Linked DNA regions of Homo sapiens: regions 2 and 3 are each linked to region 1. Evidence: promoter capture Hi-C in human tissues and cell types (Jung and others, 2019). All regions are on one chromosome and are shown on one strand. The core of a region is centred on a gene start or on the middle of the fragment in contact, and the rest is flanking DNA. Distances in the headings are between cores, read along the strand shown. Region 1 holds the start of PDXK (pyridoxal kinase). Region 2 overlaps HSF2BP (heat shock transcription factor 2 binding protein). Region 3 overlaps HSF2BP (heat shock transcription factor 2 binding protein).

Region 1 (5,091 bases), core at 1,404-3,903:
CGTGCAGATGGTCCAGTCGCAACAAATCTGTGCTACACTCACAAGGAATCAGTGGGAGCTCCCTGGCAATAGGTGTACCCTGAGCCTGGCATGAAGGGCACAAGGAGCCCTGGTGCTATCTTGCAAACAGGTATTGTGCCTAGTTTGCAGGTGAGACTCCGGAAGGCTCAGAAACCAGGGCCAGGTCCCTCAGCTGGAATTCCAAGATGTGGAGACACCTGCTTTGAGGTGGGACCCCCAGACACCTGGGTCAGTCCCCATAAGGCGCCTCTCCAGCCGCCCTGCTACATGCCACACCCCTGAGGCATTCTCCAGTCTCATTCCAAGTAGCCTTGAGGCAAATCTCTGGGGCCCAGCCAGAGGCTATGTTCTGCCAGTTTCTAAGTTTTCTTTCCTCACATTCAGCTATGTGAACAAGGCTTTGGAGTCCTAAGCCACATGTGATGATCAAAATCAAGAACAAACTCTTGCAAGAGCAGCTCTAGACTTTGGGGACACGTCCCCTTGGAACTGCAGCTAGAAGCGGCAAACACTGGCCCCAAGGCCATTTCCAGGCTCTGTCCCCCATTCCCTCCTGTGCCCACTAAGGCTGGTCCAGGCTCGCTGGGTCTCCAGCCATCTCAGCCCCTCGGTCATCACATTGCTTCTCCTTGTCCAGCCGGGCTTGGACATCGGGGTATGGGAGCAAAATGCCTGCATGGAACCCTGTGGAGCCCACAGGTAAGGATGCCGTGCACTGGGGAGACCCGAGGTAGGAACAGCAGCGCCATCCTTTCGAGGCTCCACCTGAGGTGAGCAATCAGAGGACACCCCTCGAGTCACTGGGAGTTCGAGAACAAAGGACATTGCTGGGGGATCCCGAGTGAGCCAAAGAAGGAAACAGTTTGCCCAATGAAGTAGGAGGTGGATGGGAGGAGGGACGGGACAGACACAGCAGGACCTGCACACTTCTGCCAAGAGAGTGGACGCTGTCCTCAGAGCCCCCTGGTTCCACACTGCCTGGCTGCCCCTGCTTCAGGCACCCTGCACCTTTCTTCCCAAGCCCAATCCTACCTCTGACTCTGCCCAAGCAATCCGCCAGCCTGTGGTGACCTCCCCCAACCCCCTCAAGCTAGGAGTGGTCCAGAGCAGTGCTTAAGAGCCGGAGCCACAGAACCGGTGCACCCTGACTGTCCCAGGCAGGGTCTGCCTGCAGCTGGATGGAACAGGGTCTCAAGTAAGACCACCTGTGAAGCACCGCATCCTTCCCAACAGGACCTCCACTTACTTCGGACTCGAACCCCCTGCCTTTCCACGCTCAACTCTGCTCAGCTTGGTCCTCCTGGGGGCACGCCTAGGTCAGCCCTCAAATTCCACTGAAGCTCTGCTCCCCTCTTCCTGTCCTCCTCCCAGGCCAGCCCGCACCGCAGGCCCCGCCGTGCCCAGGTGGCCCTTCTTTACATCCCGTGGGGCCCAGCACAGGGACCAGGCATACCTGCTCCCGTCCCCAGTGACCAGGCCGCAGGTGGGCAGCACAGGAGAGCACGACCCGGCAGGGCACCCCCAGCCCTCCTGCTGACTCGACAAGGCCAGGAAGTGCCCGTCGTCCTGGTTCTGCCTCGGCCCTGCGTGACACCCACGCCACTGCACCCAGGCCTCTCCTACCCCTCCACGGGCCACTTAGCTGCAACCAGGAGGCCGTGGGCCAACGCGTTTTAAAAGCTGGCTCCCTAAAGCCAATCCGCACAGTCCCGAACTGCTCTCTGGGGCTTCTCCTCGTCAGAGCAAACACCTGCAGGGATGCCGCTCTGCTAGAGGGTGCAGAGCAGCCCCTGCCCCACCCTCTTCCCTTCGGCCACCTCCTGGCGTGGTCAGGCCGAGGGGAATCCACCCTCGTGGGCACCGTGACCTCACTCGGCGTCTTCTTCCTGACTTCCCCACGCACAGGGGCCCAGGAGGTGAGCGCGCGAGCGTCTCGAGCTCCACGGCCGCTTCTGCGTTCCAGCGGGGCAAGGTCCCGGCTCGCGTGACTGCTCCGGGACTCCTCGGGGCTCTGCGACATTTCCTCGCCTCCGGGAGCCGCACCGCCCGCCCGCCCCCGCGGCAGTTGGCCCGGTCGGCGGGAAGGGGCGAGGACGAGCGGCTGCGCCATAGCTGGTGCACAGGGCTCCCTCCTACCCGCGTACCCCGACGCCGGACCCGTCCCACCCGCAGGGGCCCGCAGAGCGCTCAGCCCTCCGCTTCCGCCCCCGCAAGCCAAGCAGAGCGGGAGGCTCATCCCGCGCCTGCCTCCAGGGCGCCCGCGCCAGGCTCTGCCCGCAGCTCCCGAGCCTCCCTCGGGGAACTGAGGCTCGTCTCGGGCAGCCCCGCCAAGGTCACGGGCTCGGGTTACGTAAGCCCGGGCTGCGGGCGGATGCGTACCTGCAGCGGGAACGTGGCCGCCCGGTTGCCCACGTAGCCGCGGATGACGTGGCTCTGTATGGAGAGCACCCGGCACTCCTCCTCCATGCCGGGCCTGGCCGCGGCGGCGCGGGGCCGAGGCGGGGGCACGGTCTCCGCCGCTCGCTCGGGCTCCGGCTCGGCTCGGGCTCGGGCTCCGGCCCCGGCTCCCCTCGGCTGCGACTCTGGCTCTGGCGCGCGGCGGACCCGATCAGCGCAGACGCCTCCTTCTGACCTCAGCGGGCGGCTCCGAACCCGCGAGTTCCGCGCGGCGCCGGGGGCTGGCCGGGGGCGGACCGGGGCGGGGACAGCCACGCAGGCCCCGCCCCCGGGCTGGGAGGAAGCGAAACCGGACCCTGGCCGCGCGGCCGCGCCAGGTGGCCCCCGCCACTCTGCCGCCCGAAACGCTGGGTTTGCACTTTCATTCCGCCTGGAGAGGGCTCTGCAGCGCCGTTCATTCGTTCGTTCATTCATTCATTCAACCATTGTGCTCCGCCTCAGCCCTGCGCCCCGCGCCCCGCGCCCCGCGCCCCGCCGCACGCAGGGGAGACTCGGGGGCCCGGGCTCCACGCCCCTGACCTCCGGGCGCGACACTCTCGCAACGCGGATGGCCACGAGAGTGCGCGCGGGCGTGGGAATAGTGCGGAGGCGCGAAAGTGACCCCGGACCCCGGATACCCAAGGGAACCGCGCTCTCAACTGCCTGCAGGGCCCGGAGCCCGCATCCGATCCGCGTCCCTTCCCAGGGGCCGCGCGGGAGCTGACAGACACGGGGCCGGGGGGACCCAGTCAACTCCGCACCGGCCTGGGGCGGCGGGCTTCTCTGGGGGCGCCCCAGACCCTTGCGGACCCTGAGTGCCCACTCTGGTGGCGCGGCCTGCAGAGGCCCCCAGCCGATGGCCACATGCCCGGCCGTCCATCCACAGGTGCCTGGGTCTGGGCCGCGTGTCCGATCCCACCCCAACCAGGTCTTCCTGTGGAGGGCCTGCCTTCGAGGACGAACCTGACCCCCTGGGGGACCCCACAGCCTTCACTTCCCACCCCTACGCTCTCCACAGCTGACGCACTCCCTGCGGCTTCCCTGCACCACCCCGGGGAACGGAGGCCTTTGGGTTCCAGACTTGCAGACATGGTGATTTGGGGCCCTGGGGTCAGTATCACCAGACTAAAGTCTTGGTGACCTAACACAGCGCACCTAGGGCTCTGTAGCTTGGTGAGACCCAATGCCCGACCAGGCGGGTGCTGAGGACTGAGGGAGGAAGACATTACTTAGAGATCTAGGCTTTTAAAAGAAAGTACTTCATAATTAGTCATAATTGTCCATTAATAATAGCTAACATTGGCCGGGCGCGGTGGCTCACGCCTATAATCCCAGCACTTTGGGAGGCTGAGTTGAGCGGATCAAGAGGTCAGGAGTTCAAGACCAGTCTGGCCAACATAATGAAACCCCATCTCTACTAAAAATACAAAAATTTAGCTGGGTGTGGTGGTGTGCACCTGTAATCCCAGCTACTTGGGAGGCTGAGGCAGGAGAATTGCATGAACCCAGGAGGTGGAGGTTGCAGTGAGCCAAGATCGCGCCATTGCCCTCCAGCCCGGGTGACAGTGAGAGACTCTGTCTCAAAAAAATAATAAAATAAAATAAAGAGAATTAATTGTAACACACCCCTAGATGGTACCACGAGGCTGGAGTCCAAAAGCGCTTGTCCTGGCCCTCGCACCCACTCGCCTGCGTGCTTCCCCTCCCACAAGGAGTTAGAGCGTGGTGCCAGGTAAGCAAGCCACACCCCTATCACAAGTCCAGCAAAAGGCTCCAGGGAACTCTCCCGTCTCATCACCTTAAAGGCTGTAACCCTTTGTAAGAAATAAATTCTCCTGTCCTTTCCCAAACTTATAGATTGTGAAGTTAACAAACTAAGGAGAAGTCAGAGGTTACAGAGTTGGTGACAAGCAGTGCTGGGTGAGAGCCCCAGGAACCTACAAAGGCAGCACCAACAACTGCCCTTACTACCCTTTGCTCATCCTACTCTGTGAGTCTCTCGCCCTTGGCTCTTAGGAGCGCCTGATGAATCTCTCTCTCTGCAGTGGATTTCGTCCTTCCACACTTTGATCCATCATCCATGGTCCCTTCCCCATCCCCAGCCCCCACCCCCCCCATCCTATCACACCTTTGGTCCCAAGCACTAAGAGGAAAGAGCAGGGGAGGCATGGAAGAGAGCTGACCAGCCTCCAGGCCCGTGGGCTCCAGGACCCTCCTTCTCGACAGAGGGCTCTGATCGAAACTCTGAAAATGTCATTGTGGTGAGTACATTTTTGCCTGTGGTTTCTTGGGCTTTTCAAAGATCTGGTTGCCCGTTCCCAGCTGTTGTGCAGATGGCCAGTGCCTGTGGTTCTCACACTGGTCATTTTAGAGTCACCCAGGGAACTGGATACACACACCTAGGCCCAGCCCTGTCCTACCTCACTGAGCCTGGCGCTGAGCTCCTTTTTAGCTCTGCAGGTGCTTCTGAGACCACCCAAGGGTGAAAGGCACTGTGTGGGCAGATGAGCTAATTTGGTGTTTTTATGAGCACATGTCACTTGCCACTAATTATCAGTCCAAGAGCAAAGCTTTTTCCTTGATGACTCAGATAGTAAAGACCTTCTAGACACTACGAGTCTACTGAAAAGATGC
Region 2 (5,091 bases), core at 1,707-4,206, 110 kb after region 1:
CTAGGACTTTTATAGTTTGAGGTCTTACATTTAAGTCCTTAATCCATCTTGAGTTAATTTTTATCTGTGGTTAGAGGTAGTGGTCCAGTTTCATTCGTTTACATATGGTTAGCTATTTTTCCCAGCACCATTTATTGAACAGGGAGTCCTTTCCTCATTGCTTATTTTTGTCAATGTTGTCAAAGGTCAATTGGCTGTATGTGTGCAGCTTTAATTTCTGGGTTCTGTATTCTGTTCCATTGGTCTATGTGTTTATTTTTGTACCAGTGTTATGCTGTTTTAGTTAGTGTAGCCTGGTAGTATAGTTTGAAGGTGGGCAGTGTGATGGCTCTAGCTTTGTTCTTTTTTCTTAGCGTTGCTTTGGCTATTTGGGCTCTTTTTTGGTTCTATAAGAATTTTAGAAGAGTTTGTTCTAATTCTATGAAAAATGATGTTGGTAATTTAATAGCAATAGCATTGAATCTGTAGATTGCTTTGGGCAGTTTGGACATTTTCATGATATTGATTCTTCCAGTCCATGAACATGAATGTTTTTCCAGTTGTGTCATCTATGATACTTCTTTCAGCAGTGTTCTGTAGTTCTTCTTGAAGAGATCTTTCACTCCCTTGGTTAGATGTATTCCTAGGTTTTTGTGTGTGTGTGTGGCTGTTGTAAATAGGATTGTGTTGTTGATTTGGCTCTCAGCTTGAACCTTTTTTTTTTTTTTTGAGACAGGGTCTCACCCTTTTACCCAGGCTGGAGTGCAGTGGCATAATCACGGCTCACTGCAGCCTCGACCTGCTGATCTCAAGCGATTCTCCTGCCTGAGCATCCTGAGTAGCTGGGACTACAGGTGTGTGCCACCACACCTGACTAATTTCTGTAGTTTTTTGTAGAGACAGGGTTTCGCCATGTTGCACAAGCTGGTCTTGAACTCCTGAGCTCAAGTGATCCGCCTTCCTTGGCTCTTCCCAAAGTGCTGGGACTACAGGCTTGAGCCACCACACCTGGCCTCCAGTTCTGTGTTGAATAGGTGCGGTAAGAGTGGATATCTCTATGTCTTATTCCAGTTCTTAGGGGAAGTGTTTCTTCTAGCTGCCCATTTTTATTTTTAATGAAATGTCCCAGAATGCTCATTTTTAAAAGGCTGTTTCTCTTCCAATCTCATGCGAATTTTTTTCCTCCTTGAAAATTCAAGCAACCAGTTGCTCTCTTCACATCCAGCCTTTCTCATCACTGTACTTTTCTGACCATCCAGGCATTTCCCTTGTTCACTGAGTACTGGCTTGTTGGTGTCCCCCTCCCCATTTCCTGCTATCTTGAATGACTTGAACATGTTTAGGGGTGATTCATTCAACAATCTAATTTCAAGGCCACCTGCCTTTCTCAGCTCCCAAGATTTGCTGTGCCCTTCACTGTGGCAGTAGTCTGCCTTGGGCCAGACCCTGCACATTGTCATCAGGTGGACTGTCTGGTAAACATTGCTGTAGCACTCAGGCCATACCTCCTCTCCTCCCTGCCTCCTTTTCCTACCATTGTTCCCTCTAAACTGCAAGACCTCCTGCTCCTCCTCCCTCCTCTTTCCTCCTGCTCACACCATTGCCTCCATGGCCTCCCCTCCCTCCAGCTCACCCAGCCCCAGTGTGCATCACATTTCCTGATGCTTTCAACCTTGGATCAGCCCAGCCATCCTTCTTCTCTGTTCCTACAGCTGGGGCTGTTGAGTGAGGTTTGGGAAGAAGCTTTCTTGTGTGCACGGACTCTCGTCATTTCTCCCGGTTTCCAGCACCCTGGAATCCTCTTCTATGTCCTTTCTCAGCTCCCACTCATTTCCACACTGGTGGAGGCAGACCTCGGGTGTGATCCTCACGGCCTCCCTGCTCTGCTCTTCCTTGGTAGGTGGGTGTCCCGGCAGGCGGCTTTACTTCCTGCTCTGCTCTTCCTTGGTAGGTGGGTGTCCCGGCAGGCGGCTTTACTTCCTGCTGCACAGAGTCAAGGGTGTGAGTGTGGCCGCCTCAGCTTGGCCCTCCCTTGTTTATTCCACTCCCCTTTGCTTTTTCTTCTCACGTGTCAGAGGCACGTATGGCCTGGATGTGTGTGTGTGGTGTGGGTGTGTATATGTGGCGGGGCGTGGGGAAATGAGGATGTATTTGGGTGTGGTGTATGTGTATGTGGGTATTTTTTGGGGTGTATGGTGTGTATGCGTTTGTGTGGGGCATGTTTATGGTGTGAGTGTGAGGGAATGTGTGTGGTGTGTGTGTATATATGTTGGGGGGAGGTGGGTGTCATGTGATGTGTGTGACTGTGGTGTGTTTGTATATGTGGGACTATGAGGGATTGGGATGTGTGTATTTTGTGTGTGGGTGGAGATGTGGGTGTGGTATGCATGGTGTGTGTGGCTATGTGAGGGGGATGTGTGTGTGTGGTATGTGTATGTTGGGGGATGTTTGTGGTGTGTATGTACATGTGGAGGGTATGGGGTATGTGTGTTTGTGGGAGGTGCGTGGGGGGATATGTGTGGGTGTGTGTGTGGGTGTGGCGTGTGGGGGTGTGTGGGCTGCATATGTGGGGGTGTGTGTATGTGTGTGTGTTGGAGTGTGTGTGTGGTGTGGGGAATGTGTGGTGTGTGTGTGGTGTGTGTGTCGGGGGGTGGGTGATGTGTGTTTGTGGGCTCTTTCAGCCAAGGCTGGGGCAGTTAGTGCAGTCAGCTGGTGTGTTGTGTGTGGGGTGTGATGTGTGTGTGATCTGTGGTGTGTGATGTGGGTGCGTGGTGTGTGGTGTGTGTCTGGTATGTGTGTGGTGTGGGTGTGTGGGCTCTGTCAGCCAAGGCTGGGGCAATTAGTGCAGTCAGCTGGTGTGTGTGTGGTGTGTCTGATGTGTGTGTGGTATCTGTGTGGTGTGTGTGTGATGTGTGTGATGTATGTGTGTTGTGTTATGTGGTACGTGTGATGTGTGTGGTGTCTGGTGTGTGTGTGGTGGGTATGTGGTGTGTGTGATGTGTGTGTGGTGTCTGATGTGTGTGGTGTGATGTGTGATGTGTGTGTGGTGTGTAGTGTGTGTGTGGTGTATGGTGTGTGATGTCTGTGGTATGTGATGTGTCTTTGTGGTGTGTGTGTGATGTGTGTGGTGTGTAGTGTATGGTGTGTATGTGGTGTGTGGGTGTGGTGTGTGTGATGTGTGGTGTGTGTGGTGTGCGATGTGGGTGGTGTGTGTGGCGTGTAGTGTGGCATGTGTGTGGTGTGGCATGCGAGTGGTGTGCGTATGGTGTGTGAGTGGTGTGTGTGTGGTGTATGTGGTGTCTGAGATGCGTGTGAGTGCAGTGTGTAGTGTGTGTGTGGTGTGTGGTGGTGTGTGTGTGTGGTGTGTGTGTGGTGTGTGTGCTGTATGATTGTGTGGTGTATGATGTGGTATGTGTGATGTGTGTATGGTGGTGTGTGTATATTGGTGTGTGTGCAATGTGTGTGGGGTGTGTATGGTGTGTGTGGTGTGTGTGTGGGGTGTGTATAGTGTGTGTAGTGTGTGGTGTGTGTGTGTATGGTGTGCGTGCTGTGTGTTGTGTGTGTGGTGTGTGCGTGGTGTGTGTGTGGTGTGGTGTGTGGGGTGTGTATGGTGTGTGTGTAGTGTGTGTGGTGTGTGTGTGGTGTGCGTGCTGTGTGGTGTGTGTGTGGTGTGTGCGTGATGTGTGTGTGTGTGGTGTGTTTGTGGTTTGTGCATGGTGTGTGTGGTGTGTGTGATGTGTGTGAGTGGTGTGTGGTATGTGTGATGTGTGTGAGTGGTGAGTGGTGTGTGGTGTGTGCTGTGTGCTGTGGTGTGTGTGTGTAATCCTCCTGCCTCTGTGTTGAGCCTTCCTCTGGGATGTGCCCTGTTGCCTGTCATTTCTTGCTCCAGTATTTCCAGCGCTCCTGCTCCACTGGCTCCTGTTTAGCCTTTTGTCTTCCCAGGCCACGGCTGCCCTTTCAAACCACTAGCCAGCCTGCGTTTACCATGACATGTTGCATTTTCCCAGAATGCAGAGCTGGCTCATGGTGTGTTCTTTTTGCCTCCCCCAGAAATCCCTGTGGGCCCTGCAGGTCAGTGGTGGATCAGACTGGATTCTGCTATTGGGCCACATGTCCATGTCTTTTGTGGCAAACATTCATAGGGTTGTACATGGGACATTGTTGTGACTCAGCCTCTGTGAGTTTTTTCAGTGGCATAGCCTCCCCAGCCATATGGTTTCGGGCTGTTCCTAGTTTATCTGCCTTTTTTTGTGAAGACCCTGTTTTTAACTCTCCAAATCTAGGAACTTCCAGCATATGGTGGCCAGACACACCAGCTGACCTTGGAGGCCCCTCAAGGTGGTTGGTGCTGCCAGCAGGATGACTGGATTCTGTTTACTGTAGTGGTCATAGCTTTTCAGTCTTAGCCATACCTCATGGGTAATTTTCCCCATTCCCATCAGCCTCTCAGGTGTCTGCTGGAGATGGCCACTTGACAGAACTGTGTGCAGGGTGAGCTCTGTCAGCCAAGGCTGCGGCAGTTCAGTGCAGTCAGCTGGTGGCATGCCCCTGGCAGGGTTCTGTCTGTTTCATCTCTGTGTATTTCTCCTTAGTCATTCAGCCATGGAATGACATGTGTCAGGAGTGTCCCCCTTCGTCACCACCTCAGTCCATTTCCTTCCCCTCCGGCCACTGGTCACCCAGGCTTGTGCTCCCAGGGCCTGGTGTGGGCAGGATCTGTGCTGTGCCTGGACCTTGGGATTGCGGGGGGCCCTGAGCGCTGTCCTGGCACTGAGCTGCATGTGGAGGGCCCAGAGTCTCCTTTCTACGGCTCCTCTTTCTCCGCTGCTGTGACATGACCCTGGCGTTTCCATCCTCCTTGATACTTGGTAACACTTAGGCAACTGCAATTATTATTTTTTTTATTAGACTTGTGGATTTCTCCAGCGTTTAAAGTTTCCCTTCCTTTTTTTGTACTTCCTTATGGAGGCCGGGTTATTTTTTTTCCTCACTGCCCACGCTGCCTATGATTTTACCAGTCCTTGAGTAGGCCATGAAAGGCCTTTTCACATCTACACTAGCGGCTTCTCAGGTCAGACCTGCTGGAGGTGTTATTGAAGGGGATGGCAGAAG
Region 3 (5,091 bases), core at 1,561-4,060, 68 kb after region 1:
ATCCTGAATCATCAGCCTGCGTCTGTCTCCACTGCTGTGTTCTGCCTCCTCCTGGCGGTCTCCTCACTGCCACTCTCCAGTCCCTCAGACACACTGTAGCCTGAGTAGTTTGTGGCAGTTCAATCTGATGATGCCATTCACCTGCGTAAGTCTTCAGACGCTTCTCTTTGTTTTTAGGATAAAGAGCAAAAACCTAAAAACCCCACCCAGACTCATTATCATCCAAAAACCTAAGCAAAACCATACTACGGCTTAAAAGGCTTTATATTATTGGGCACAGCCCCGGCTCAGAGTCACTGCCTAATCTGACTACCTCGACATGATCAATCTTCCTTTGAAATGTTGTCATGGTACCCTATGCTTCCTTCAGACACATGGTTTTATTTCCATTTTACTTTATAAGCTGTTGGGAGTGCAGGGCCCCTGATTTTATCTGTCATTATCTCGGCCCCTGATTTTGTCTGTCATTATCTCCCTGGCTGATTATTCGGTCTTGAGGGAGCACCCTACTGTCTCTGCATGCCCTTCTTTCTTTCTCTCTCTCTCTTCCTTCCTTCTCCCTTCCCTTCCCTCCCCTCCCCTCCCCTTCCCTTCCCCTTCCCTTCCCTTCCCCTTCCCTTCCCTTCCCCTTCCCTTCCTTTCCCTTTTCTCTCTCTCTCTCTCTCTGTGTCTCTCTTTCTCTCTTTCTTCCGAGTCTCACTCTGTTGCCCAGGCTTGAGTGCAGTGGCATGATCTCAGCTCACTGCAACCCTGCAACCTCTGCCCCCTGGGTTCAAGCGATTCTCTTGCCTCAGTCTCCCGAGTAGCTGGGATTACAGGTGTGTGCCACCACGCCAGCTAATTTTTGTATTTTTAGTTAGAGACCAGGTTTCACCACGTTGGCCAGACTAGTCTTGAACTCCTGACCTCAGGTGATCTGCCCGCCTCGGCCTCCCAAAGCACTGGATTACAGTTATGAGCCACTGCGCCTGGCCTGATGCCCTTCTTTCTAGTTTGCAGTCCTATCTCATGAAACTCACATGTGCTCCAGGAAACGTGGTGTTAACAGAAAGGAAGGATCAGATTGGGCTGGGCTGGTTCCAGGAGGTTTACTGTGGCCTCCTAAGGCATCTTTTATCTAATTTTGGCTTTTGAGTTTTTACCATTTAGCCAACATCAAGAAAAATAAAAATTCTTCTTTTTATAAGGCCTAGATCTGATGGCCCTCCCCAAGCCTTCCCACGAGCCTGTCTTCCTAGACTAATCATGCTAGACATGACTCTAAGAATAGAGCTCTACAGAGGAAATTCACGATTGTACTGTGGCAGCAAGAGCCGTTTGACATACTGATTCTTCTACTCTCCCACTAGCCCTATTGTCCAGTATCCACTCCTTTTGCTTCTAGAGGTTAATGTGCACTTCCAGTTGTTTTTTTTTTTTTTTTTTTTGATGGTGTCTGGCTCTGTCTCCCAGGCTGGAGTGCAGTGGTGTGATCTCAGCTCACTGCAACCTCTGCCTCCCGGGTTCAAGCTATTCTCCTGCCTCAGCCTCCAGAGTAGCTGGGAATACAGGCGCCTGCCATCACGCCTGGCTAATTTTTGTATTTTTAGTAGAGGCAGGATTTCACCATATTGGCCACGCTGGTCTCGATCTCCTGACCTCAAGTGATCTGCCCGCCTTGGCCTCCCAAAGTGCTGGAATTACAGGCATGAGTCACCATGTGCTTCCAATCTTAAGCAGTGACTAAAGGCAACCTGAAGGTAGGAATGAATACAGGCAGGGAAGGAGTAGACCTGATTTGAGAAGTTTCTTTTAGAGTGTGGATATAGTTTTGTTTGGATGGGCTTGGGCTATACAGTAACTTGTAAGCCAGCTAGAGGATTGAGGTGACACATCAAGTAGCGAATGGGGCTTGATTTTGACTCTAGCCCAGCATCTCCCTTTGGGAGGACTGGGCAAGGTAAATGGCAGTTTGCAATAATACTGACGAAGGTGTTGCCTGAGAGTCTTAGGGAGTTGATGGGTACTGGGGAGAGGCATGATTTGTTAGGAGGAGAAGGGGAGATATTCTAGGCCAGGGCGGTGGCATGTGAAAGTCACACATGGGATTGAGCAGGACCGATTGCAGGTTCATCAGCTAGTGTTTGATTGCTGTATGGAATAAGGATTGGGGGTATAGCAGAATTAGGGATGGAAAATGAACAGTTTATGGAAGACAATCATAGATTGTTTTTAATTTGAGATGAGAGTCAACTGGAAATTACCACATGGAAATAACCATCAAAATAGTGATCAAAATGACGTTTTTTAGGAGAATGGTTTTTATAGGTGAGTGTAGGATAGGTTTGAAGAATTGGGTGGAAGATGAATTAGAGCATTCATCAAGGAAGGTCGTGAGTTCCATTAGTGTGTGGGACTGTGGCTGTATGGATGGAATGGAAGGGACGTTTGATTAGTCTTGGTGGTTAAGTCAGGACAAAGTGTCATGATTTATGATCGGCAGTGAGAGTATGGAGATACAGGATCATCTATATACTGCCTGCTGATTAGTGTCTACAAAATGTGGACAGTAATGCTTACCTCATAGGCTATGGCAAAGCTTAAAATGAGATAAGCTCTGTAAGGTGTGTGCCACTGTGACTGGCTCATAGGAGTCCCTGGTAAATAACACCTCCTCAGATGGTGTGGGAAACTATGTGAACCCTTGGGGAAATGAAGAGAGACTCCAATTCACAGCCCAGCAGCTTAGCTTCTGGCTCGGCCATTGTCACTTCATGAGTTTGGGAAAAGTTTAGGGAGGTTCGAGTAAGACTCAGCTATGTTTGCAAGAGATGTAAACCGGGCCGGGTGCGGTGGCTCACGCCTGTAATCCCAACACTTTGGGAAGCCAAGGCTGGCAGATCACTTGAGGTCAGGAGTTCGAGACCAGACTGGCCGACAAGGTGAAACCCCATCTCTACTAAAAATACAAAAATTAGCCGGGTGTGATGGCATGTACCTGTAATCCTGGCTACTCAGGAGGCTGAGACAGGAGAATCGCTTGAACCCAGGAAGCAGAGGTTGCAGTGAGCTCAGATCATGCCACTGCACTCCAAACTGGGTGACAAAGTGAGACTCCATCTCAAAAAAAAAAAAAAAAAAAAAAAGCAAGCCTGAAAACACTATAGGAACCTCCATTTGACTTGTTAAGGTAGTGGCACTTAAGTACTTAGTAAGATATCACCCTCTGTTTTCTTTCATCCCTTCTTGTGCTTTATTCATCCAACAGTGGTGAATAAATCAGTGGGTATCAAAAATTTGTTTAAAACTAGGAAAATCCTATTTTTTATAAATAAAATTTTATGGGCCGGGCACGGTGGCTCATGCCTGTAATCCCAGCACTTTGGGAGGCCGAAGTGGGCGGATCACGAGGTCAGGAGATCGAGACCATCCTGGCTAACATGGCGAAACCCTGTATCTACTAAAAATACAAAAATTAGCCGGGCATGGTGGCGGGCGCCTGTAGTCCCAGCTACTCGGGAGGCTGAGGCAGGAGAATGGTGTGAACCCCAGAGGCGGAGCTTGCAGTGAGCCGAGATCGCACCACTGCACTCCAGCCCGGGCGACAGAGCGAGACTCTGTCTCAAAAAAAAAATTATATAATAGTATATGATGGTTCTAGATGTAAAATAGATGAAAACTGTATCTTCTGGGTATTTGTTTTTAAAATTAAGTTTTAGAACATTGACTTATAAAATCAGTAAGTACAATGAAGGTGGTGCGATGAAAACACAAATTTAGTATCAGGGATTTTGGAAGGTACTTGGATGATCACTTTCAGCATCCAGTTTGTTTTTAGTTTTGCTTGTGAAGTCGCAAGAAGACACAATCCCACAGATAAGGAGTTGCAGATGGTGGTTTTGAAGTAGTTCACCTAGCAACATGAAGACACTTTCTAATTAAACTGATATGAAGCTTGAAATAAGAGGAGTCAGATATTTTTGTTTTACAATTAAATCGCTAAGATCGAGCAATTCTTTGCTTTCCTTGATTGGCAATTGTTCATTTTGGAGAGAAATAATAAAAAAGCCATTCAGTCTGTTTAAATCTTCATTGTCTTACAGAAAACACTTTTCATGCATTATGCTGCATTTGACAATTTGGCACCTTAGTGGCAGTCAGATATTCACTGACAGTCTCAGAGGAGCTGGAATTATTTTTGTATGTTGACAGCACACCTAAAATGTTGGCCTCATTTCTGAAATAATTAAAATGTTAAATAATTTTAACCTTTTAAAATTTGTTTATATGTTTTTTGATGTTAATGTGAACCAGCCTTGTTTTGGTCATTGAAAATATCAGCAGTGAATGCGAACTAGTGTAGCCATGATACGCTGGTGAGATATTTGACCAACAGATTTTTCTTTCTTTTTTTTTGAGATGGAGTCTCCCTCTGTCACCCAGGCTGGAGTACAGTGGCATCATCTTGACTCACTGCAACCCCAGCCTTCCTGGTTCATGCCATTCTCCTGCCTCAGTCTCCCGAATAGCTGGGACTACAGGTGCGCGCCATCATGCCCGGCTCATTTTTGTATTTAAAAATTTTTTTTCAAAAAAATAAAAAAAACCCCAAACTGAAAAACAAACAAAAGGCCAGGCGCGGTCAGCACACCTGTAATCCCAACTACTTGGGAGGCTGAGGCAGGAGAGTCGCTTGAGCCCAGGAGGCAGAAGTGACAATGAGTTGAGATCATGCCACTGCACTCCAGCCTGGGCAACAGAGGGAAACTCCATCTCAAAAAAATTTTTTTAATTAAATAAATGAATGATGAGCAAATGAGGCAAACAAAATGTTAATAGTAGGTAAGTCTGGGTAAAGAGAGATAACAGGAATTTTTTTTGGCATTAGTTTTTGTGAATTTGAAATTACTTCCAAATAAAAATTGTAAATAACATTGTAAAATGGAGATATTAATTGAATGTTTATGGGACTGTAGTTGTTCCCCAGGTACTCTTAGATTCTTAGCAGTAGGATTTGAAAACCACTGCGCTATGTGATTTCTAAAGTGTAGGATATTTTGAGATTAATTTCCTGAGAGTTTGATACGGGGTACCCCCATTTCAGTTCTGGGA

The links. The method cuts DNA at HindIII sites, captures the fragments that hold promoters and counts their contacts. A contact is called where the count stands out against the background at its distance.
Region 2: a fragment that was not itself captured here is called in contact with the fragment with the promoter of PDXK in region 1 in 4 of the 25 tissues and cell types used here (dorsolateral prefrontal cortex, lymphoblastoid cells, small bowel and 1 more).
Region 3: a contact is called between a fragment that was not itself captured here and the fragment with the promoter of PDXK in region 1, in 4 of the 25 tissues and cell types used here (H1 embryonic stem cells, dorsolateral prefrontal cortex, lymphoblastoid cells and 1 more).

What each region holds. Positions count from the first base shown.
Region 1 is chr21:43,716,691-43,721,781 of GRCh38, reverse strand. It overlaps PDXK (pyridoxal kinase), which reads right to left and starts at 2,653. Exons shown (of 11, transcript NM_003681.5): 1 at 2,401-2,653. The coding sequence starts at 2,487. LOC124905032 (a long non-coding RNA gene) reads left to right here and starts at 3,234. Exons shown (of 2, transcript XR_007067896.1): 1 at 3,234-3,567; 2 at 4,090-4,307. RefSeq lists silencers at 1,665-1,854, 2,012-2,321, 2,362-3,151 and enhancers at 1,051-1,960, 3,302-3,351. The HindIII fragment of the contact is 22,908 bases long and covers 1-5,091 here.
Region 2 is chr21:43,602,907-43,607,997 of GRCh38, reverse strand. All of the region lies in intron 7 of HSF2BP (heat shock transcription factor 2 binding protein), which reads left to right. Among named protein-coding and RNA genes, the nearest start is that of MIR6070, 4.5 kb to the left of the region's middle. The HindIII fragment of the contact is 7,535 bases long and covers 1-5,091 here.
Region 3 is chr21:43,648,737-43,653,827 of GRCh38, reverse strand. All of the region lies in intron 3 of HSF2BP (heat shock transcription factor 2 binding protein), which reads left to right. Among named protein-coding and RNA genes, the nearest start is that of HSF2BP, 8.2 kb to the left of the region's middle. The HindIII fragment of the contact is 6,133 bases long and covers 1-5,091 here.